Linked DNA regions of Homo sapiens: all the other regions are linked to region 4. The links are contacts of gene promoters, found by promoter capture Hi-C in blood cells and fetal thymus (Javierre and others, 2016). All regions are on one chromosome and are shown on one strand. The core of a region is centred on a gene start or on the middle of the fragment in contact, and the rest is flanking DNA. Distances in the headings are between cores, read along the strand shown. Region 1 has its middle 67 kb from the start of DCD. Region 2 has its middle 21 kb from the start of DCD. Region 3 has its middle 44 kb from the start of DCD. Region 4 holds the start of NEUROD4 (neuronal differentiation 4). Region 5 has its middle 92 kb from the start of DCD. Region 6 has its middle 95 kb from the start of MUCL1.

What was found. The method cuts DNA at HindIII sites, captures the fragments that hold promoters and counts their contacts. A CHiCAGO score of 5 or more calls a contact.
Region 1: a fragment that was not itself captured here is called in contact with the fragment with the promoter of NEUROD4 in region 4 in 7 of 17 cell types (naive CD4 T cells, naive CD8 T cells, non-activated CD4 T cells and 4 more); the score reaches 8.3 in naive CD4 T cells.
Region 2: a fragment that was not itself captured here is called in contact with the fragment with the promoter of NEUROD4 in region 4 in 6 of 17 cell types (total CD8 T cells, M1 macrophages, total CD4 T cells and 3 more); the score reaches 6.5 in total CD8 T cells.
Region 3: a fragment that was not itself captured here is called in contact with the fragment with the promoter of NEUROD4 in region 4 in 6 of 17 cell types (activated CD4 T cells, naive CD4 T cells, non-activated CD4 T cells and 3 more); the score reaches 9.1 in activated CD4 T cells.
Region 5: a fragment that was not itself captured here is called in contact with the fragment with the promoter of NEUROD4 in region 4 in 2 of 17 cell types (activated CD4 T cells and naive CD4 T cells); the score reaches 5.4 in activated CD4 T cells.
Region 6: a contact is called between a fragment that was not itself captured here and the fragment with the promoter of NEUROD4 in region 4, in 7 of 17 cell types (naive CD4 T cells, total CD4 T cells, activated CD4 T cells and 4 more). The highest score is 7.1, in naive CD4 T cells.

The regions. Positions count from the first base shown.
Region 1 is chr12:54,713,938-54,717,573 of GRCh38, forward strand. No RefSeq gene overlaps it. Among named protein-coding and RNA genes, the nearest start is that of DCD, 67 kb to the left of the region's middle. The HindIII fragment of the contact is 3,088 bases long and covers 424-3,511 here.
Region 2 is chr12:54,667,423-54,671,230 of GRCh38, forward strand. No RefSeq gene overlaps it. Among named protein-coding and RNA genes, the nearest start is that of DCD, 21 kb to the left of the region's middle. The HindIII fragment of the contact is 2,913 bases long and covers 967-3,808 here.
Region 3 is chr12:54,690,747-54,694,627 of GRCh38, forward strand. No RefSeq gene overlaps it. Among named protein-coding and RNA genes, the nearest start is that of DCD, 44 kb to the left of the region's middle. The HindIII fragment of the contact is 9,388 bases long and covers 1-3,881 here.
Region 4 is chr12:55,018,407-55,022,004 of GRCh38, forward strand. It overlaps NEUROD4 (neuronal differentiation 4), which reads left to right and starts at 1,568. Exons shown (of 2, transcript NM_021191.3): 1 at 1,568-1,907. The HindIII fragment of the contact is 8,784 bases long and covers 813-3,598 here.
Region 5 is chr12:54,738,338-54,741,773 of GRCh38, forward strand. No RefSeq gene overlaps it. Among named protein-coding and RNA genes, the nearest start is that of DCD, 92 kb to the left of the region's middle. The HindIII fragment of the contact is 7,865 bases long and covers 1-3,436 here.
Region 6 is chr12:54,757,463-54,761,039 of GRCh38, forward strand. No RefSeq gene overlaps it. Among named protein-coding and RNA genes, the nearest start is that of MUCL1, 95 kb to the right of the region's middle. The HindIII fragment of the contact is 338 bases long and covers 1,488-1,825 here.

The sequences.
Region 1 (3,636 bases), core at 718-3,217, 300 kb before region 4:
TGTGTTCTCATTGTTCAACTCCTACTTATGAGTGAGAACATGCGGTGTTTGGTTTTTTGTTCCTGTGCTAATTTGCTGAGAATGATGGTTTTCAGTTTCAACCATGATCCTGCAAAGGACATGAACTCATTCTTTTTTATGCCTGCATAGTATTCCATGGTGTATATGTGCTACATTTTCTTTATCCAGTCTATCATTAATGGGCATTTGGGTTAGTTCCAAGTCTTTGCTATTGTGAACAGTGCTGCAATAAACATATGTGTGCATGTGTCTTTACAGTAGAATGATTTATAATCCTCTGGGTATATTCTCAGTAATGGGGTTGCTAGGTCAGATGGCATTTCTGGTTCTAGATTCTTGAGGAATGGCCACAGTGTATTCCACAATGGTTGAATTAATTTATACTTCCACCTAAAATGTAAAAGCTTTCCTATTTCTCCACAGCCTCACCAGCATCTGTTGTTTCCTAACTTTTTAATGAACTCCATTTTAACTGGCATGAGATGCTATCTCATTGTGGTTTTGATTTGCATTTCTCTGATGATCAGTGATGATGAGCTTTTTTTCATATGTTTGTTGGCTGCATAAATATCTTCTTGAGAAGTGTCTGTTCATATCCTTGACCCACTTTTTGATGGGATTGTTTGTTTTTTTCTTGTAAATTTGTTTAAGTTCTTTGTAGATTCTGGATATTAGCCCTTTGTCAGATGGATAGATTGCAAAAATTTTCTCCCATCCTGTAGGTTGCCTGTTCACTGTGATGATAGTTTCTTTTGCTGTGCAGAAGCTCTTTAGTTCAATAAATAATGATAAAGGGGATATCAGTACTGATCCCACAGAAATACAAACTACCATCAGAGAATACTGTAAACACCTCTATGCAAATAAACTAGAGAATCTAGAAGAAATGGATAAATACTTGGACATAAACACCCTCCCAAGACTAAACCAAGAAGAAGTTGAATCCCTAAATAGACAAATAACAAGTTCTGAAATTGAGGGAGTAATTAATAGCCTACTGGCTGGGCGCGGTGGCTCATGCCTGTAATCCCAGCACTCTGGGAGGTTGAGGTGGGGGGATTATGAGGTCAGGAGTTCGCGACCAGCCTGACCAACATGGTGAAGCCCTGTTTCTACTAAAAATACAAAAATTATCTGGACGTGGTGGTGGGCACCTGCAATCCCAGCTACTCAGGAGGCTAAGGCAGGAGAATCGCTTGAACCCGGGAAGTGGAAGTTGCAGTGAGCCGAGATTGCACCACTGCACTTCAGCCTGGGTGACACAGCGAGCCTCTGTCTCAAAACAAACAAACAAAAAACAAAGAAACAAACCAACCTGGGAGTAGATGGATTCACAGCCGAATTCTACAAGAGGTACAAAGAGGAGCTGGTACCACTCCTTCTGAAACTATTCCAAACAATAGAAAAAGCAGGACTCCTCTCTAACTCATTTTATGAGGCCAGCATCATCCTGATACCAAAACCTGGCAGAGACACAACTCTTGCCTTTAAAAACCCTTACCTGTGTGCCATCAGGGAGTTTGGGTTTTAAGCAGCATGAGCTGTTCTGATTCTCCTTGCTTGGTGTCTTGCAAATAAATGGCTCCCTTTCTACTGCTGCAATAACCTTTTTGTGGATATCTGGACTTAACTGCACTGGGCAAATGGAACCTAGTTTGGTTCTATAACAATATCTAGTAGGCAGCAAAGACTCAGATTTTGGAGGCTGAAAGTCTGGTGACTCTCGTTATGCAGGGGCAACACATTTGGATAAAAGAAACTGCAACAGTTGGAAAACTTAACTGTCTGCCACCTGGTGTGGTGTCAGTGAAAAGGATGGCAAAAAGGCAGAGTATTGGGGTTGGTTGGCTGCTTCTTACTGCTTTCATCCAAGTTCTAGAAAAGAGATAAATTCAGGCTAGAGCTCACCAGTCTGTTAACAGAGATACAGACTGTTGGAGGTATAGCTCTCTTGCAGGTGCTCCGTGCCTGAGGCCTCTAATTTAAATTGACTGAAGGTCTGGAATTGGAGCCTTGCAGTTTGGTAAAGAAAATCAGGAGCATACCTCAAAGGGAAGCAGTTATATGCTGTGGCTGTGAAAAGACAGCCTAAGCAGGAGATAAAACTGTGGTCCTAAACCTTTTTCAGTACCTTTTATTAAGAGTTTTCTGCCAGACAATGAGAGCTCAGTGCAACAGCAAAGATCAGATTAAGAATCTTGTTTTTATGCTAAAACAAGGGTTTTTTTTTTTTTTTCTTTCTGAGGGCTTCTAGACTGCTGCCATTAACTTTATGGCTTAAGAGGCATGGATAGAGGAGAGAAGCCAGTAAGCACAGACCAGAGTCTTCAGATTTAAAAACGATGTGCAGATGCATTTGGTTGTGGAATATTTGCATGTGGGATGTCTGGAACTAACCACAGGCAAACAGATCATAACTCTACTAAGGTTTTGAAGGAATTATACTGACAGAGGAATCACAAGCCTGGCTGTAAAAGCCTGTGACTGTTCCACCCCTAAAGCCCAGGCCTCCAAAACAGAGAGTGGGAAGTTGTGCAACACCCAAGTAGGTAATACTTTCCAATGTTGTATTAGTCAGTTCTCACACGGCTATAAAGAAATATCTGAGACTGGGTAATTTTTAAAGAAAAGAGGTTTAATTGGCTCATGGTTCTGTAAGCTGTGCAGGAAGCATGATGCTGGCATTGTCTTGGCTTCTGGGGAGGTCTCAGGAAACGTACAATCTGCACGTGGCTGGAGCAGAAGGCGAGGGGAGGTGCCACACACTTTTAAATGACCAGATCTTATGAGAACTCTATCATGAGAACAGCACTGGGGGCCGGTGCTGAACCATTAGAAACTGCCCTCATGATCCAAATCACCCCCCGCCAGCCCCCCTCTCCAGCACTGGGGATTACATTTCAACATGAAATTTGGGTGAGGATACAGAGTCAAACCATATAAAATGTCTATTTCAATTTGTTCATGGAAGATAATGGACAAGAGAGAACAGATTAGACAGGACAGTGGACAAGGGAATTACTCTCCAAGACCAGAATCCAGGATGTCAGATGGTCAAAATAAGCACTCTACTACCAAAGAACAATGGAATTTATTAATTATAATGGACTAGTGACTGCTGTGTATTTTCTCTGCTCCCCATTACCAAATCGTAGATTTAATTGCATGCAGTTAATCTGCTTCTTGCTCCTCCATTGCATCTTTGGTGTTTTTGAGGCAGATGAGGTCACCAGATCACAAAGATCCATATCTAGACTTGACTGAGAGTTATCTCCCAGAGGTCCTGGACTTTGATCTGGAAGCTGTGCCTGGTTGGGGCTTTGCTGTTGTGTCTTTTGAGGAGGGTATGAACAGGTCCTTTATGGAGAGGAAGGTTGTGCACAGGTGGTTGGGTGACCAAAGGGACTGACTGTATTGGAGACTGCAATAAGAGTTCCAAATATTCATTCGTCCCTTCTTCCTTAGTAAGAATCCTCAAATGTTAGATGGAAGCTTGGCTGCTGGACCTAAAGATTATTTTTCAGCTGTCATTGCTAGTCCTATGGACACAAGACTAAGTTTTGGCCAAGAGTGTACAAATGACTGTGCTTGGTGCATCCGCTGAGAGGTGTCATT
Region 2 (3,808 bases), core at 1,173-3,672, 350 kb before region 4:
CCAAAATAAAGAACTATGAAAATATATCACTCATGCTCCTTTTTGGAAAATCTAGTCTACAGACAATACAATTTCAAGGAAGGCGAATAGGATATACAAGAAAGAGTGGTAAACAGAGAAACTAACAGAATATATAGTTAAGTCTAACAAATTCTTGTTATTATCATTGTGTTTAATACCATTGCTAAGAAATCCTAAAATAGAAATACATCTATTATATAATAAAATAATTATATTATTTGTATAATTATATATATGATTATAAATAAAATAATATATAAAATAATACAGTTATATGTTATATTAATAACAAAAATTAACCATATCTGAAATAAAATTATAGATACTGTTAAAGTCTTACAAGATAGGGAAAGAGGGATAAATTATACATGATACAGGTCTCATTTTCTGAGGAAGGTAAAGTCTGGTTATTAGTTGCTGATACTGATACAAGCATTGATTTAAATAGGTTTGTTAGAAACTTAAAAATAATATAGAATGGGTATGGTATGTAGATGGTGGTGGTGATGATACTGGCCTACTCAGTATCCATACTTGCTTTCTTTCTAAGTAATAGAATTCTAATTTTAGTTATCGGGGTAATGTGTCTAGTTAAAAGATAACATTCCTAGCCACATTTGCGGTTAGTAGTGGCCACTTGATTGAATGTAAATGGAAATACTGTGTGAAATATGAGCAAAGATTTCTTAAAAGGAGCTGACTCAGCAGACACGTGTTTTTGTGCCCATTTCCCTTCTTTCTTCCCGCTGTTTGGAAATTGGACAGGTTGGCTGGAGCCACCACAACTGCCATATGGCCTTGAGACTAGAAGTTGTGTCCTTAGGTCCTTGAGAATGATAGGGCAGAAAGAAAAGAGGTGGCTGGATTCCTGAGGACAGCGGGGCCTCCTACCAGGAGTCCTAGGCTGCCTTTCTCTAGTCTTCTTTTACTTAGGGGCTGGGGAGAAGCTTATGTCTTTACGCTGCTTATTTTGGAGTTTCTATTCCATGCAGCTGAACTGAATTCTAACTGATTTATAAATCTTTTAACGTGGCAGAGTAGAAAAGAGCAACAACAACAAAGAACTTGATCAATCCAGCAAAGATTCAGAAGGAAAGAAAGAACAAGAAAAGAATAAATAAATGGCAGGGTTAGAAGGTGAACTGCAGTCATAGATTTCTTTTATAATAGACACACCAGAAATAAAGTGACACACAAATGTTGAATATAAAGAGATGGAGAGAGAAATGTTAGGTAAATGGAATAGCAACATTATCTGGCAAAATAGAACGCAAGGCCAAAATAATTAAAGAGAACATGAAGTGCTGTTTTAAATCGCATAGGTTTAAAAAAGGTAAAATTCACTGAGAAGATGTAATAGTTACAAACTTTTATGCATCACACTTGCATTGAAACAAAGCAAAAACTGTGATGACTATGAGGACTACCTGACAGAGCCACACTCTCTGTAGGAGACATCGATCTGTTAAGTCTCGGAAGGTGACAGTTTATGTGGACAGAATATAATTTTGTATACAGAACATTTGAATAACACAATTGACAAACTTGCTTGAATGTTATAGCCAATGAAAAGAATAAACATTTTTTCAATACCTGTGTGGTTTTACAAAATCGATTAAATACTAGGTATCAAAGAATACCTCAATCCATTCTCCAAAGAAGAAATTGTAAAGGCCACTTTTTCTTACCACCATATAATACAAGTTAGAAATTAAAAATGAAAGGCAAATCATAATAATTAAAAAAAGAGTCCCTGGGGAAAAACAACAATCTTTCTTAGGTTAAAAGGAAAACAGTTGTGGGGTGGGGGGAGGGGAAAGGGATAGCATTAGGAGATATACCTAATGCTAAATGACGAGTTAATGGGTGCAGCACACCAGCATGGCACATGTATACATACGTAACTAACCTGCACATTGTGCACATGTACCCTGAAACTTAAAGTATAATAATAATAATAAAAAAAAGAAAACAGAGCCTTAAGTGATGATTGTTTTGGAAATGGATATGTGAACGCTGCGCACCTTTACTTTGCAGCCAACTGTTCTTAGAGGATCCCTGGTGTTTAGTATTTTATGAGAAATGAACATGTAGCAAAAGTAAATTCAAGTTTAGAAACTAGAAAATGTCTAATCAAACAATGTGAAAAATAGAAGAGGGCATTAATAGATGTAAAAGCAGAAATTAACTAAATTAAATTATGCAATCCCAATAGGAAAACATGGTTCTCCCTGAGTCTCTTCTGAAGTGCAGTCCACTCATTCCCACAGCCATGCTTCTTAGGTTGGGCAGTGGAATTCACAGACATGTGGATCATCCTAGACTCCACTGCAGAGTCCATTGAGTCATATCACTAATACCTCCTCCTCGGAGGAGTCTTGGGTCATCTGTCTACCCCTCCTCATTGTTTCACCTGCTGGGCTCCCAGCGACTCCTTTCCTTCATGGAAGACTTACTCCTGAGTGGTGGTCTTCTTTTTTGTTTTAAGCTGCTGGACAACTTCATGGATCATGACCATGACTTACCCAGAAGTCTGGGTTCTAGGGAACCATGGAAGTTCGGGTGAAAGTAGAAATTGACCTTATCATAACTTTCACCCCAACTCCCATGGTCAATCTGTGGCCGTGGTCATTTCTTAGAGTTACTCCAATTCTGAAAACACCCACATCCTCACCACATATCACCTATCCTTCCAACTCTTTCATTCTGATACTTCTTCTATATTTATTTTTCAAACTTCAGTTCCCTGACCATTTTATTTTCTCTTTTTCTGTATGCCTACTCCAGTCTTCACGTTCTTTCCTTTCCAGGTTAAATTACATGGTCTTCCACTTAGAGAAGTTTTTTGCCAATCTGTGTCACTTCCTGACCTCATTTTTACAAAGTTTGGCAAATTCTGAGTCTTGATAAATCTAGCTCTCTACTCTCTCTGTCCTATTCCAGGGCTATTGAGCACTTGTAGGAAAAAAAGGATATAAAACCATAAAGATTATACATTATAAACTTCTGGTTTGTAACCTCAACTAGGATCCCACTACATCCTTCACACACACCTAGTGACTTCATCAGCTTCACAGAGAAAATACAAGTGTTTTGGTACAAATTCCCTTTATTTCCTACCAATATATTTGTAACCTTACATGTACTTGTGTCCACCTTTTCTTTCTTTTTTACAGTAACTATGTGAGAGTTTTTCTTTCTCTTGCCTAAAACTTAACCCTTCATCTAAGATCTGACTCCTGTCTCCTCCTGCCTTCTCAGGAATATTGCTCTGTTGATTATCGCTACTCTTCCTTGCACTTTAATTTCTCCTGGACCTTTAAAAAATATCAGTTAAACAAGGCTTTTGAGGTCTTTCATGATCTGGCCTCTTCCTACCATCTCTTCCACATTTCACCTCTTAGTTTATGTCCTAGCTATGCATTTTTCTTTGAGTTCCTTGAGCACACGTTGTTTGCACTTATCTCTGGGATTTTGCACCTGCTGATCCTTCTTTCTGAAACATTATCTTCCCTTTCTCCTCCAATACTCATATTTGAGTAATTTTTCATTTTATATCACTTTCTCTGGGAATCTTCTATCCTGAAAGTTTTGATTAGGCTTAGTTCTAATAGCTTCATTGCACCCTCTAATAGACTATTGTAGAACTTATTATTCTAAGATGTACTAAGAAATTTATTTTTCTGACCTTTCTCACTCTTGTTTCCTCCAACAAGACCAAGATTGTCTTGTTCAGTGTTGATTTCCTAGCATCTGGAACATGTCCGGCATAAGAAGCATTAAATAT
Region 3 (3,881 bases), core at 704-3,203, 330 kb before region 4:
CAACACATAAAAAGAGAAAAATTATTAATAGATTATTTCCAACTTAGTAGATTCTCTAAAGGTCATTATTATACTCATCAGCCATTCTGAATTAAACTCTAGATAAAAAAAGAAGCCAGGAAACTATAGAGACTATATATTAAAAATCAGTAACAAACATTTTACAAATGACAAAATATGAAAGCAATTGCCACTTATATGAGGAAAATATGGGGTGCTCACTATCTCCATTATTACTCAATATTATTTTGAAGGTTTTATCTCATATATTTAATAAAAAAGGAAATAATCAGAATTAATATGGTAAAAAAGAGAAACTGTATTTTCATTTACAGATGATTAGCTGATTAAATGATACATTTCTAGAAAATCTCAGGTAGTCTGCTAACAAAAACCTATAAAAGAACTTGGGAATATGTTTGGATGTAAGACAAATGCAAGAAAAGCCAGTAGCTTTTTTCTAACCCAGAAAAAACCCCAGTTAGAATTAGAAATGTAAAAATATATTCCTTCTTCAATGTTGAGGAAATGAGTGGGAACTGCTAGTACATTTGGAAAGAAGAACAATGAGAGCACTGGCACTCCAGATATTAAAACTCATTCTTAAACTACTATAATTCATTCATTGGTTCATTGACTTTTTGAGCACCTACAATGGGGAAGGCACTTTTCTAGGCATTGAGGCATCTTTGGGGCACTGGAGAGATAGCAAAGAGAATATAAAAAACAAAGTCCTTGTCCTATGGAAGTTGTAGTGTGGCTTTGACACAAGAATAGAACAGAGTTTAAGTCAGAATAGAAGTTATAGTATGGCTTTGACAGAAGAATAGAGAGAGACATACTCAGTAAGACTGAGTGGAGAATCTACATGACTTAAGTCTAATTGGAATTCAGTGGCTGATTTGTCACTTAATAAAAGATGTAAGAATAATCAGCTTTCAACTAGAAGAAAACAGTTCCTTACTTTACCTAATGTATAAAACATATTCCAGATGGCCTAAACAATTTTTAACCCCTCCATCTCTAAACTTAGATGAACATTCAGGAGAATATGTAAATCCATGTAAATCAAAAAGATCTTTTTAAGCAAGGGAGAAGAGAAACTGAAAAAGAAAATAAACATTTATGAGAACCTACAAATTTAAATGTTGTCCATGTCAAAAGATACTATAAATGTTAAAAGATAAAATAGAGTAGGATATATATTTTTAGCTATACATATGATATTCAGAGGGCTACTATTTTTCTTATGGAGGGAATGTCTATAAAATGACAAGAAGAGAAAAATAACAATCACCAAACTAGCCATAATTATAAAGAGGAAATCTATTGAAAGAAAATACATATTGCCAATAAAAATATGGAAATCTTTCTGATCATTAGGGAAGTGAAAATTAAAACACCAATTAAGGAATTTTTTTCAGCTATCATATGAGGAAAAATTGGAAAATTGATAAGATTGAGCAGTACCAAGTATATGGGGAAATTCATGGGCTGTCAGTGAGAACATGGCTTGCCACAATCTTTCTGGAAAATAATCTGACAATATCTATTAAAATAAAAATATATAAATCATTTGTCCTAACGTTCCCAATTATGGGACTGTATACTATAGAGTATACAGAAGCACACATACATAGGGATGTATGGACAAAGATGTTTATCACAGACTTGTAGCAGCAAAAACCAAACAGATAAATACATACATACATTCAGCTAAAAAAATGAGAACCAAAACTAAAACCACATAGAAAAAAATACATGTGTGTCTGTCTATAAGGGGTTACTTGCGTAGATTGTGGTACAATCTCAATACTGTCCAGCTGTTAAGAGAGTGAATTGGATCTGTATAGTGGAACCGGAAGAATGTTTCTACCAAATCATTAAGTTAAAAAAATGAGTTGTAAGAGCACACAGTGAGATTCCTTATGTGAAACAAAACAAAACAGCACAGATATTGTTTATAGGATCTTAGAGAGAGGTGTGGAAGACTATATACAAAACTATTCACATATTACCTCAGGAACTGGGATTGGAGAATGTGGGACAGGAAGGGGTCATGACCTTTCTCTATCTCTGTGCTATTTAGTGTAAGAAAAGAGCTTTGTAAGGACAGGGATTTGTATCTTGTTCATTGCTGCCTCTTTGGTATCTAAAACATAACAGGCAGCTTGGATCCATTCAGTAAGATTTATTGGCCAGACATGGTGGCTCACACCTGCAAGCCCAGAACTCTGGGAGGCCAAGGCAGGCGGCTCACTTGAGGTCAAGAGTTGACCAGCCTGGCCAACATGGTGAAACCATGTCTCTACTAAAAAATACAAAAATTAGATGGTTTTGGTGGTGCACGCCTGTAATACCAGCTACAAGGGAGGCTGAGGCAGGAGAATCACTTGGACCCAGGCGACAGAGGTTGCAGTGAGCCGAAACTGTGCCATTGCACTCCAGCCTGGGCGACAGAGCAAGACTCTGTCTCAAAGAAGAAAAAAAAAGTATGGAATAAATAATCATTTGTTATTTCTTTAATTTAAAAAAAAAATGGGATAAGACAATGGAGAATTTAGAGTAGAGTAACCAAGAAGAGATGTGGAGAGGGCTACTGCAGAAATGAAAGCTCTCTTCCTAGAGTAACCTGGGAACTTTTAAGTCAGGAGTCAAAAAGTATATGGAGGAGGAGCTAGCCACAGGGTGAATGTAAAGGGGATTAAGCAAGCAACTCTCCCAGGAAAAACGAGGGTCCTCTTCTCCACTTGTTTTCAGGAGTGGCTGGTTTCAGTGTTTGCTTCCAGGTGAATGTGAAGGGCTCAGCTGGTATGAGAGGTCAGAAAGAGACAGGGCAGGATCTGATGTAATTCTGGGTTTTCAAAGTAGTCTCAGAAAAAACAAAAAACAACGGGCTGTTACAGAGAACCATACTAAAGCCAGTCATTTATAGCAAATTCATTCCCAGATTGCCTGCTAGCTCCCCATTCACACACCACAAGGGAATTGGTTGGCAACCTCCTCATCCCATTTATCATGAGCCTGCAGTTGGCCAGCTCCAGGGAGAGACAGTCCCCCTATACAAATGCTGAAGGAGCCAATGCCTGGTGTTGATGATATTCAACTTAGTACTTCATTTAAAGCAAAGAATTAGCAAATATTTGAGGAAAATTAGCATCATGAAAAAGAAGTGTGAAGAAGATTAAACAGGATGACTAGCTAAGGAAGAAACAGAGAAAGATACCCTAGAAGAAAACCTAGGCAATACCATTCAGGACATAGAATTGGTCAAAGACTTCATGACTAAAACACCAAAAGCAATTGCAACAAAAGCCAAAATTGACAAATGCGATCTAATTAAACTAAAGAGCTTCTGCACAGCAAAAGAAACTATCATCACAGTGAACAGGCAACCTACAGAATGAGAGAAAATCTATCCATCTGACAAAGCTCTAATATCCAGAATCTACAAGGAACTTAAACAAATTTACAAGAAAAAACAAACAGCCTCATCAAAGAGTGGGCAAAGAATATGAACAGACACTTCTCAAAAGAAGACATTTATTCAGCCACAAACACATGAAAAAAAGCTCATCATTACTGGTCATTAGAGAAATGCAAATCAAAACCACAACGAGATACTATCTCATGCCAGTTAGAACGGCAATTATTAAAAAGTCAGGAAACAACAGGTGCTGGAGAGGATGTGGAGAAATAGGAACGCTTTTACACCATTGGTGGGAGTGTAAATTAGTTCAACCATTGTGGAAGACAGTGTGGCCATTCCTCAAGGATCTAGAACCAGAAATACCCATTACTGGGTATATACCCAAAGGATTATAAATCATTCTACTATAAAGACACATGCACACATATGTTTATTGCAGCACTATTTACAA
Region 4 (3,598 bases), core at 318-2,817:
TGTTGTTTAATTATTCTGAAAATGAAGTTTATTTTCCTGAGCAGATATTTTTCTGGATAGGGATACAAATAAAGATAAGTAAGAGATTAAAGAGCTGCTGAAAATAAATAACTTCCCATGAAAACTGAAAAAAGTGTTAATTTTTATTTTCTTGTTTTCTGTGAAAAACAAGAGTCATATGACACATATCAGAATTAAAAATAACTATTTTCAAACTTAAGATACTCTTTTCAACTTTATGAGCAGTGAAACTATCTTTTGTTTCAGCCCTCTACAGTTTTCCTTGCACACAGGCATATTAATAGTTTTTCATTTCTGTTTGACGCATGTGCTAGTTATGTTGTTAGACCACGCGATTCTCAAAAAGCTGGGGATACTCTGGTTTCTTTTCAGATTGTATAAATGTTTTGCCTTTTGCCAAAACGCCTGAGGAATTATCCTTCAAGTCAATTTCTAAAAGAAGTTGAACTTGGATTCGTAACTCTATCAGGCTACTGATGGAAAAACTCATTTTACAGATATGAAAACTGATGCCCAGAGTGAAGTTGACTTATTCAAGATCATTCAGCCAATTGCTTAATCTGAGCACCTTTCTTTTTCCTTCTTGGAAACACAAGATGATTAGAAAATCTTTGGTATCTTAAGTTCACAATCATTTATTTTTCCTTGGTGTAGTTTTAAATAAGATAGTATGAATATCTATATACTTAAATTATTCCAGATGTAGTTTTCTTTCTGTCTTCTAGCAATTTAATTCAACCTCCTAATACCAAAGGAGTTTTAGGAATTATTATGAGCCTTCTCTTCTTCTAAGCTTATTACTACTCAGGTGGACTTTTTCTACGTGAATGCTTAATGATGTATTTTTGAAAAACAATAGTAGATCTCAGTTTGTAACTCAAGGAACTAACTGCCCTTAAAATGAAGGATTTTATTAATTTCCTTTTTGTTTTTATAAATTTAAAGTGATCAGAAAGTTGAAAGAATAGCACAACAAATATAGCTTCACCTAAATTCACAAATTAAAAGTTTTAATGAGAGTAGCTTTGACGTGCTGAAAAGGTGGGAGAGACATACTTCTTCCTTCTACTTTTAGAACGCTGAAGTTTATAAGCCAAAGACCCCAGTCCACATGTGTAAGGAAGCAGCCACTGATGCTGTGTCCTTGACACGCATCTTTCTCACCTTTTGATTCTTTTCAGACGTGGGTCAGCAGCGTCATCTGCCCTTTTTAGCTCTCTCTCCAAGTCTATCCCCAATTTTCTTTCTCCATTCTGTCCACACTACTCCGCTCCCATTTCTTATCTTTTTAATCACAAAGGTTTCCAGTCCTCTTTTTCTTTACTCCTTAACTTCAGCAACTCTCCTCCCCTGCTCCCCTTCCACCAACCCCCATCTCTATTTAAACAAACAAACGGGCGGCAAAACTGGACCTGGCCGGAGGAGCCTTTCAAGTGGGCGTGTCTTTCGGCTGGGGAAAAGGGAGGAGTTAGACTCTGGGCAACATCACTCCTCCCTGGTCAGCTGGGAGAGCAATCAAAACTGCAGCAAGTCAGAGGCTCCGGCCAGAGAGCAGGAGCTGCCCAGAGGCTTGTGGTCCTGAAAGCTCCTCTCCGGGGAGCTAACCAGGGAGAGGAGGTACTGAAGAGCGACTAAACTGGCTGCAGCGGAGAGATCAGCCCGAAGGCGTCCTTGAGGAGCATACGGAACTCCAAGGAAGGAGTAGAATAAGGAGCAGGCAGAGAAACCAGACCCGGTGGAATCTCTAAGAGGTAACAACCGGGTTTGACATGGATCGCTGAAAGCGTCTCTTCTACCATCTGGATGGTCAGGGAGACTTGGCTTCTCTGACTGTCCTCTAAGACGCAGATTCACAGAGTTCACTCCAGGAACGGCCAGTGACCGAGGTGAGCCAGTGGTTGGGGTGGTAAGGGGGCTAAAGTTTCTGTGGGAAGTTCCCACTCACCTAGAGGAGCAGTTGGGGTGAGGAAAGTCTCTTCTGGGTAAGGCAGGAGGAAGTGAGATTTAGGAAACTTGGAATGTAGAAGCTAGTGAGTTGGAACACTTAGGGACAAATATAAACATTTTAAATAATTTTATTAAATTTTATAGCACTTGCCACCCAAAGTGAAACACATAGACACTCACAATCATTTTAATAAAGTGAAGAATACAGATGATCTCCCCCAATTCCTGTCAAAGCCACTCTTTCATTTTGTTAGTGGTGAAAATGTCGAAAAGTTTAACTGCTTTTCCAAGGTGGCCCAGCAAGTAGGTTGGAAGAATTGACCCAATCCACCACTCTGCTCACAGCATTTTAGGGCTATGCAAGGACGGAGGGGGAGGCAGGGAAAGGAAAACAGAATGAGGAATCAGAGAAGATTGTGGAAAATCCTCGGGGTAGATTCTCACCATTAACTATTTTGTTTACTAAAAATGCTTGAATAGTTGGCACAGGGTGGGGGAAATTTCCTTTTCCTCAGCTCTTTCAGATGGGAAATTAGAAGAAAAAGATTGTCCAAGTATATTTTTCCTTTCTCTGCTTCACACTCATCATTTGCCCGCAAAAAAAGTATACTCAGAAAATACTAATTAAATGTAAAATACCCACCCCCATTTTTTTGACAGAGGAAGCAGAGGTGAAATGCTGAAGAACATGCAGGGAAAAATAAGGGACTGAATAACTTCTGTTAACTATTAAGATCTGAGGCAATGGCACCTGAAGTATTACATGGCTTTGCTGGACAAAATGTGTGTGTATGTGCATGCATGTACATACATGTGCACATATATTAATAAAGGGGAAAATAGTAGAGTAGAAAAGAAGAGCATAGAGCAAACTACTGGCTTTTTCCAAGCAGTACAACTTGTGAACATCCTGATTTGGATTCTGTCTTTTTAGTGCCAAGACTGTGCAACTCTGGGAAAAGAATTTAGTCTATTTAGTTCTTAGATTTCCTAGAAACTGGGCTGGACAGCCCCCTTTCTGTTGTATTTAGTCATCGGATCAGGAGGTAAAGAGATTATCACCAGCTTTTAAGAGGAAAGACACCATCTAACTACCACAAATCCACATGTGAGTTCCCCTTACCTATTAATTAGTTGAAATATCTCCACAATAAATAAAAAATTTGTAAAAGTGTAGAAAGAATTCCAGGATAGCTTCACATAGTAGTAATGCTTAACGACTTTGGCCCTAGTAGTAAAAATATTCAGTAGTAACAATCATTGCCTAAGCAAACACTTTGCTAGAACAGATTTAAAATTTTTAAAAATATGAGAAATATTTTGAATTAAAGAGAATTGGCCAAACTTGAAATTTCACTGAAAGACCCTATAGAACGAGGAAAATTCTGTTATATTGTGTAGGTATAAAAGAAAATCCAAATACCAAATGGCTAAAAATGGACTTTATAAGACCAGAATGTGTTTATGTGTATGTGTAGGGAAGGGCCAGATTCTGCCCCTTGAGCCAGTATTCATTGATTTTTGTCATGTTCGAGCCTATTTCCTATGTAATTTGTGAGCTAATTTCTTTCCTAGGAATTGAGGCAACCTTAAGATGGTATATCATGATGCTTTGTGAGATAGTGCTACA
Region 5 (3,436 bases), core at 928-3,427, 280 kb before region 4:
TCTATCTATCTATCATCTATCACAGTTTCTTTATCCACTCATTGACTGGTGGGAATTTAGGCTGGTTCCATATTTCCTCAACTGTGAATTGTGCTACTATAAACAAGCAAGTGCAAGTATCTTTTCCGTATAATGGCTTCTTTTCCTCTAGCTAGATACCCAGTAGTGGGATTGCTGGATCAAATGGTAGTTCTACTTTTAGTTCTTTAAGGAATCTCCACACTGTTTTCCATAGTGGTTGTGCTATTTTACATTCCCACCAGCAGTGTAGAAGTGTTCCCTGATCACCTCATCCACTCCAACATCTACTGTTTTTTGATTTTTTGATTATGGCCAGTCTTGCAGGAGTAAGGTGGTATCACATTGTGGTTTTGATTTGCATTTCCCTGATCATTAGTGATGTTGAGCTTTTTTTAATATGTTTGTTGGCCACTTGTATATCTTTTTTTGAGAACTGTCTATTCATGTCGTTAGCCCACTTTTTGATGGGATTGTTTGTTTTTTTCTTTCTGATTTGTTTGAGTTCATTGTAGATTCTGGTTATTAGTCCTTTGTCAGATGTATAGATTGTAAAGATTTTCTCCCACTCTGTGGGTTGTCTGTTTACTCTGCTGACTGTTCCTTTTGCCATGCAAAATCTCTTTGGTTTAATTAAGTCCCAGCTATTTATCTTTGTTTTTATTGCATTTGCTTTTGGGTTCTTGGTCATGAAATCCTTGCCTAAGCCAATGTCTAGAAGGGTTTTACCAAGGTTATCTTCTAGAATTTTTATAGTTTTGGGTCTTAGATTTAAGTCCTTAATCCATCTTGAGGTGATTATTGTATAAGGAGAGAGATGAGGATCCAGTTTCATTCTCTTACATGTGGCTAGCCAATTTTCCCATCACCATTTGTTGAAAAGGGTGTCCTTTCCCCACGTTATGTTTTTGTTTGCTTTGTTGAAGATCAGTTAGCTGTATTTGGGTTTATTTCTGAATTCTCTATTCTGTTCCATTTTTCTATGTGCCTATTTTTATACCAATACCATGCTGTTTTTGTGACTATGGCCTTATAATATAATTTGCAATCAGGCAGTGTGATGCCTCCAGATTTGTTCTTTTTGCTTAGTCTTGCTTTGGCTATGTGGGCTCTTTTTTGGTTTCATATGAATTTTAGAATTTTTTTTTCTAATTCTGTGAAGAATGATGGTGGCATTTTGATGGGGATTGCATTGAATTTGTAGATTGCTTTTGGTAGTATGGTCATTTTCACAATACTGATTCTACCCATCCATGAGCATGGTTTGTGTTTCCATTTGTTTGTGTCATCTATGATTTCTTTCGGCAGTGTTTTGTAGTTTTCCTCGTAGAGGTCTTTCAACTCCTCGGTTAGGTATATTACTAAGTATTTGTTTTAATTTTTTTTGCAGCTATTGTAAAAGGGGTTGAGTTCTTGATTTGATTCTCTGCTTGGTCGTTGTTGGTGTATAGAAGAGCTACTGATTAGTGTACATTAATCTTGTATCCAGAAATTTTGCTGAATTATTGTATCAGTTCTTGGAGCCTTCTGGAGGAGTCTTTAGGGTTTTCGAGGTAAACAATCATATCATCAGCGAACAGTGACAGTTTGAATTCCTCTTTACTAATTGGATGCCCTTTATTTCTTTCTGTTGTCTGATTGCTCTGGCTAGGACTTACAGTACTATGGTGAAGAGGAATAGTGAGAGTGGGCATCCTTGTCTTGTTCCAGTTCTCAGAGGGAATGCTTTCAACTTTTCCCATTCACTATTATGTTGGCTGTGGGTTTGTCATAGATGGCTTTTATTACATTGAGGTATGCCCCTTGTATGCTGATTTTGCTCAGAGTTTTAATTAAAAGGGATGCTGGATTTTGTCAAATGCCTTTTCTGCATCTATTGAGATGATCATGTGATTTTTGTTTTTAATTCTACTTATGTGGTATATCACATTTATTGACTTGCATATGTTAAATCATCCCTGCATCCCTGGTATGAAGCCACTTGATCATGGCGGATTATCTTTTTGATATGTTGTTGGATTCTATTAGCTAATATTTTGTTAAGGATTTTAACATTTATGTTCATCAAGGATATCGGTCTGTAGTTTTCTTTTTTGGTTATGTCATTTCCTGGTTTTGGTATTAGGTTGATGCTAGCTTCATAGAATGAATTAAGGCAGGTTCCCTCTTTTTCTAACTTGTGGAATAGTGTCAAAAGAATTGGTACCAATTGGTCTTTGAATATCTGGTAGAATTCTGTTATGAATCTGTCTGGTCCTGGACTTTTCTCTGTTGGTGATTTTAAATTACCATTTCAATCTTGCTGCTTATTCTTGGTCTGTCCAGGGTATCTAATTCTTCCTGATTTAAGCTAGGAGGGTTGTATTTTTTCAGAAATTTATCCATATCTTCTAGGTTTTCTAGTTTATGTGCATAAAGGTGTTCATAGTAGCCTTAAATAACCTTTTGTATTTCTGTGGTGTCAGTTGTAACATCTGCTGTTTTGTTTCTTATTGATGCTATTTGGATTTCTCTCTTCTTTTCTTTATTAATCTTGCTATTGGTCTATCAATTTTATTTGTCTTTTCAAAGAACCAGCTTTTTGTTTTATTTATCTTTTGTATTTTTTTGGTTTCAATTTCATTTAGTTTTGCTCTTATCTTGGTTATTTCCTTTCTTCTGCTGGGTTTGGGTTTGGTTTGTTCTTGTTTCTCTTGTTCCTTGAGGTATAACCTCAGAGTGTCATTTTGCACTTTTTCAGTCTTTTTAATGTAGGTATTTAGGGCTATGTACTTTCTTCTTAGCACTGTCTTTGTTGTATTGCAGAGGATTGATAGGTTATGTCACTATTGTCATTCAGTTCGAATAATTTTTAAATTTACATCTTGATTTTGTTTTTGACCTGATGATCATTCAGGAGCAGGTTATTTAGTTTCCATGTATTTGCATAGTTTCAAAGGTTCCTTTGGGAGGTGATTTCCAGTTTTATTTCACTGTGGTCTAAGAAAGTGCTCGATATAATTTAAATTTTCTTAAATTTATTGAGGCTCATTTCGTGGCCTATCTTATGGTCTATCTTGGAGAAAGTTACATGCACTGTTGAATAGAATGTGTATTCTGCAGTTGTTGGATGGAATGTTCTGTATATATCTATTAAGTTTATTTGTTTCAAGGTATAGTTTAAATCCATTATTTCTTTGTTGACTTTCTGTCTTGATGACCTGTCCAGTGCTGTCAGTGGAGTATTGATGAAGTCCCCCACTATTATTGTGTTGCTGTCTTTTTCATTTCTTAGGTCTATTAGTAATTGTTTTATAAATTTATGAGCTGCAATGTTAGGTGCTTATATGTTTAGGATTGTGATATTTTCCTGTTGGACAAGACCTTTTACCATTACATAATGTCCCCTTTGTTTTTTTTAACTGCTCTTGCTTTAAAG
Region 6 (3,577 bases), core at 407-2,906, 260 kb before region 4:
TACAGGCGTGCGACCCCTTGCCCGGCTAATTTTTGTATTTTTAGTAGAGATGAGGTTTCACTATGTTGGCCAGGATGGTCTCAATCTCTTGACCTTGTGATCTGCCTGCCTCGGCCTCCCAAAGTGCTAGGATTATAGGCATGAGCCACCATGCCCAGCCTGAACCCTGTTTTTAAATCGATTCATTCATGTATCTTATTTTTAAAATTAATTAATTAATTAATTAATTGATTTTGCGATGGAGTCTCACTCTGTTGCCCATGCTGGAGTGCAGTGGTGGCTCACTGCAACCTCTGCCTCCTTGGTTGAAGTGATTCTCCTGCCTCAGCCTCCCGAGTAGCTGGGACTAGAGGTGACCGCCACTGGCTAATTTTTGTATTTTTAGTAGAGGCAGGGTTTCTGATCCCCCGTCTCGCCCTCCCAAAGTGCTGGAATTACAGGTGTGAGCCACTATGCCCAGCCCATTCATGTATTTTAATTGGAGTATTTAGTCCATTAACATTCAGTATAATAATTGATAGGTAAGGACTTACTGTCATTTTGTTACTTGTTTTCTGGTTGTTTTTTTAACTCCTCTCTTCCTTTCTTTCTGAGTGTCTTCCTTTGTGGTTAGGTAAAGTTTTCTGGTAATACATTTTAATACACTGAGCTTTATTTTTGGTGTATTTAATATAGGTTTTTGCTTTGCGGTTGCCATGAGGCTTACAAAATTATCTTATAAATATAATAAGTTATTTTAAACAGATGACAACTTAACTTTTATCACAGAACAGAAAGGAAGGAAAAACTAAAAAACTCTATACTTTAATTCCACCCCCCATTCTGACTTCTTGTTTTTTCAATTTACATCTTTTCATATTGCCTATCTCTTAAAAGGCTGCAGTAGCTATTTTTTATAGATTTTTCTTTTGGTCTTCATTCTAGATTTTTGAGTAGATTACACAATGACAATATTAGAATATTGTTAATTTGTCTGTTTGTCTGTGTACTTTCTTTTACCAGTGAGTTTCTTTCTTTCTTTCCTTTTTCTTTTTTTTGAGACGGAGTCTCACTCTGTCACCCAGGCTGGAGTGCAGTGGTATGATCTCGGCTCACTGCAACATCTGCCTCCTGGGTTCAAGTGATTCTCCTGCCTCAGCTTCCCAAGTAGCTGGGATTATAGGCACCCACCACCACACCCAGATAATTTTTGTATTTTTAGTAGAGATGGTGTTTCGCCATGTTGGCCAGGCTTGTCTTGAACTCCTGACCTCAGGTGATCCTCCCCCCTTGGCCTCCCAAGTGCTGGTATTACAGGTGTGAACCACTGCACTCAACCAGTGAGTTTCATATCTTCAAATGTTTTGCTTTTGTATGATAGCATCATTTTCTTTCAGACTGAAGTACTTTTAGCATTTCTTGTAAGATGGGTCTAGTGGTGATGAATTCCTTCTGTCAGCTTTTGTTTGTTTGGGAAAGACTTTATCTCCCCTTCATGTTTGAGGGAAAGCTTTTTCTGGGTACAGTATTCTTGGTTGAAAGTTTTTTTTTTTCCCATTAGCACATTGAATATGTCATTCTACTTCCTTTTGGCCTTTATGTTTTCTCCTGAGAAGTCTATTGCCAGATGAATCAGAGCCCTTTTATATGTTATTTGCCTCTTTTCTCTTGCTGTTTTTATGATCGTTTCTTTGTCCTTGACCTTTGAGGGTAAACTCTCAAAGTCTTATATGCCTTCGGGTGGTATTATTTGGATTGAAGTCATTTGGTGATCTCTAGCCTTCCTGTAGCTAGATTATACCTTTCTCTAGGTTTGGAAACTTTTCTGTTATTATTTGTTTAAATAAGCTTTCTAACACTTTCTCTTTCCCAATTTCGTCTTTAATGGCAATGACACTTAGATTTGCTCTCTTAAAGGTATTCTCTATATTTTGCAAGTGTTCTTCATTTCTTTCCATTCTTTTTTCTTTCTTCTCCTTTGACTGTGTATTTTCCGATAGCCTGTCTTTGAACTAACTGAGTTTTCCCACTGTTGATCCATTGTGCTGTTGAGAGCCTATAATGTATTTTTCAGTTTAGCAAACATATTTCTCAGTTCCAGGATTTCTGTTTAAATTTTTAAATTATTTGAATATCTTTGTTAAATATCTCTAGTAAATTTCTGAATTGCTTTTCTGTGTTATCTTGGAGTTCACTGAGTTTCCTTTGAACTGCTACTTTGGATTCTTTAACAGAGCTTATATATCACTGCCTCATTAGGATCAGTCTTTGGCTCATTGCTTTGCTCATTTGTGGAGGTCAGAGTTCCCTGTTTGCTGTTGTTTCTTATGGATATACATCTATGGCTTTGCATTGGAGGATTATTTACAGTTTTTGCTGTCTGGCTTGTTTTGGTCTTCCTAGGGTATGTTTGCTATGGGGTAATATTTAGCTGCCTGTTGGTCTCCTTATCCTACATTGTTGCCTCCTTTTCAACACTAGATGGTGCCTTAAGCCCAGATTTGGCTTGGGCTTCTTGCAACTGCTCAGAGTGTTGCCCATCCCTGACTGAGGAGAGAGAGGAAGTCCCAAAGAAGTTACCATACCCATGAGGGAAATCTGGCTAGGGATTTGTGCTCAAAAGACTGGTAGAATGTGCCTCATACAATGTCGTACTGCTGAACAGACACTCTGATTTGGCATCTCCTTTGCCTTAAAGACCAGGGTTTCACAGGCTGGGGTTTCTAGTCCCACTTTCCCTCTTTATCTCCAGCTGCCCTTGGGGTTTTCCTTCCTACAGGTATTTCCCATGAGTTGAGGCAGGAATGCTTTTCCTACAAGGGAATCCACGATGGTGGAGAAGCTGGCTATCTACCTCAATCTCACTTTTTCCGATCTAGAAACCATGAGTCTGGGGGAATTTTCCACAAATGGTGCCTGGCAGATTGAGGATCGGTATCAAAGATAGACAGGTTTGTTTCTCTTACCCGAAGCTCGGAGTTTCTCACTTCTCTGTGGCTGTAGGGATTGCCCCAGCCTCAGATTTGAGTTTTAGGATTTTGCTGGTTACTATATATATATATATATTTTTTTTTTTTTTGGAGGCGGGGACCGGGTCTTGCTTTGTCACCCAGGCGGGAGTGGAGTGGAGTGGAGTGGCTCCAATATGGCTCACTGCAGCCTTAACTTCCTGGGCTCAAGTGATCCTCCCACCTCATCCCCCCAAGTAGCTGGGACTACAGGTGTGCACCACCACACCTGGCTAATTTTTTGTGTTTTTGTGGAAGCAGGGTTTTGCCACATTGTCCAGGTTTGTCTCGCACTCCTGGACTCAAGCAATCTGCCCACCTCAGCCTCCAAAAATTCTGGGATTACAGGTATGAACCACTGTACCTGGCCCCTGGTGATAATCTTGATGCTGGATATTTGTTCTTGGTTTTCTGCTGGGGAGAGCAAAGTCAGATTGTTTCTGCTATACCATTTTGATGACATCCTTTGATACTAAAATCTTTTAAGGAAAATATAAGAATAATGTATCACAGGCTAATCTTGTTTATATAAAGATGCAAAAATATGATCAAATTAGCAGCAAAGTGAGCCTAACTATCTTAAAGACAAG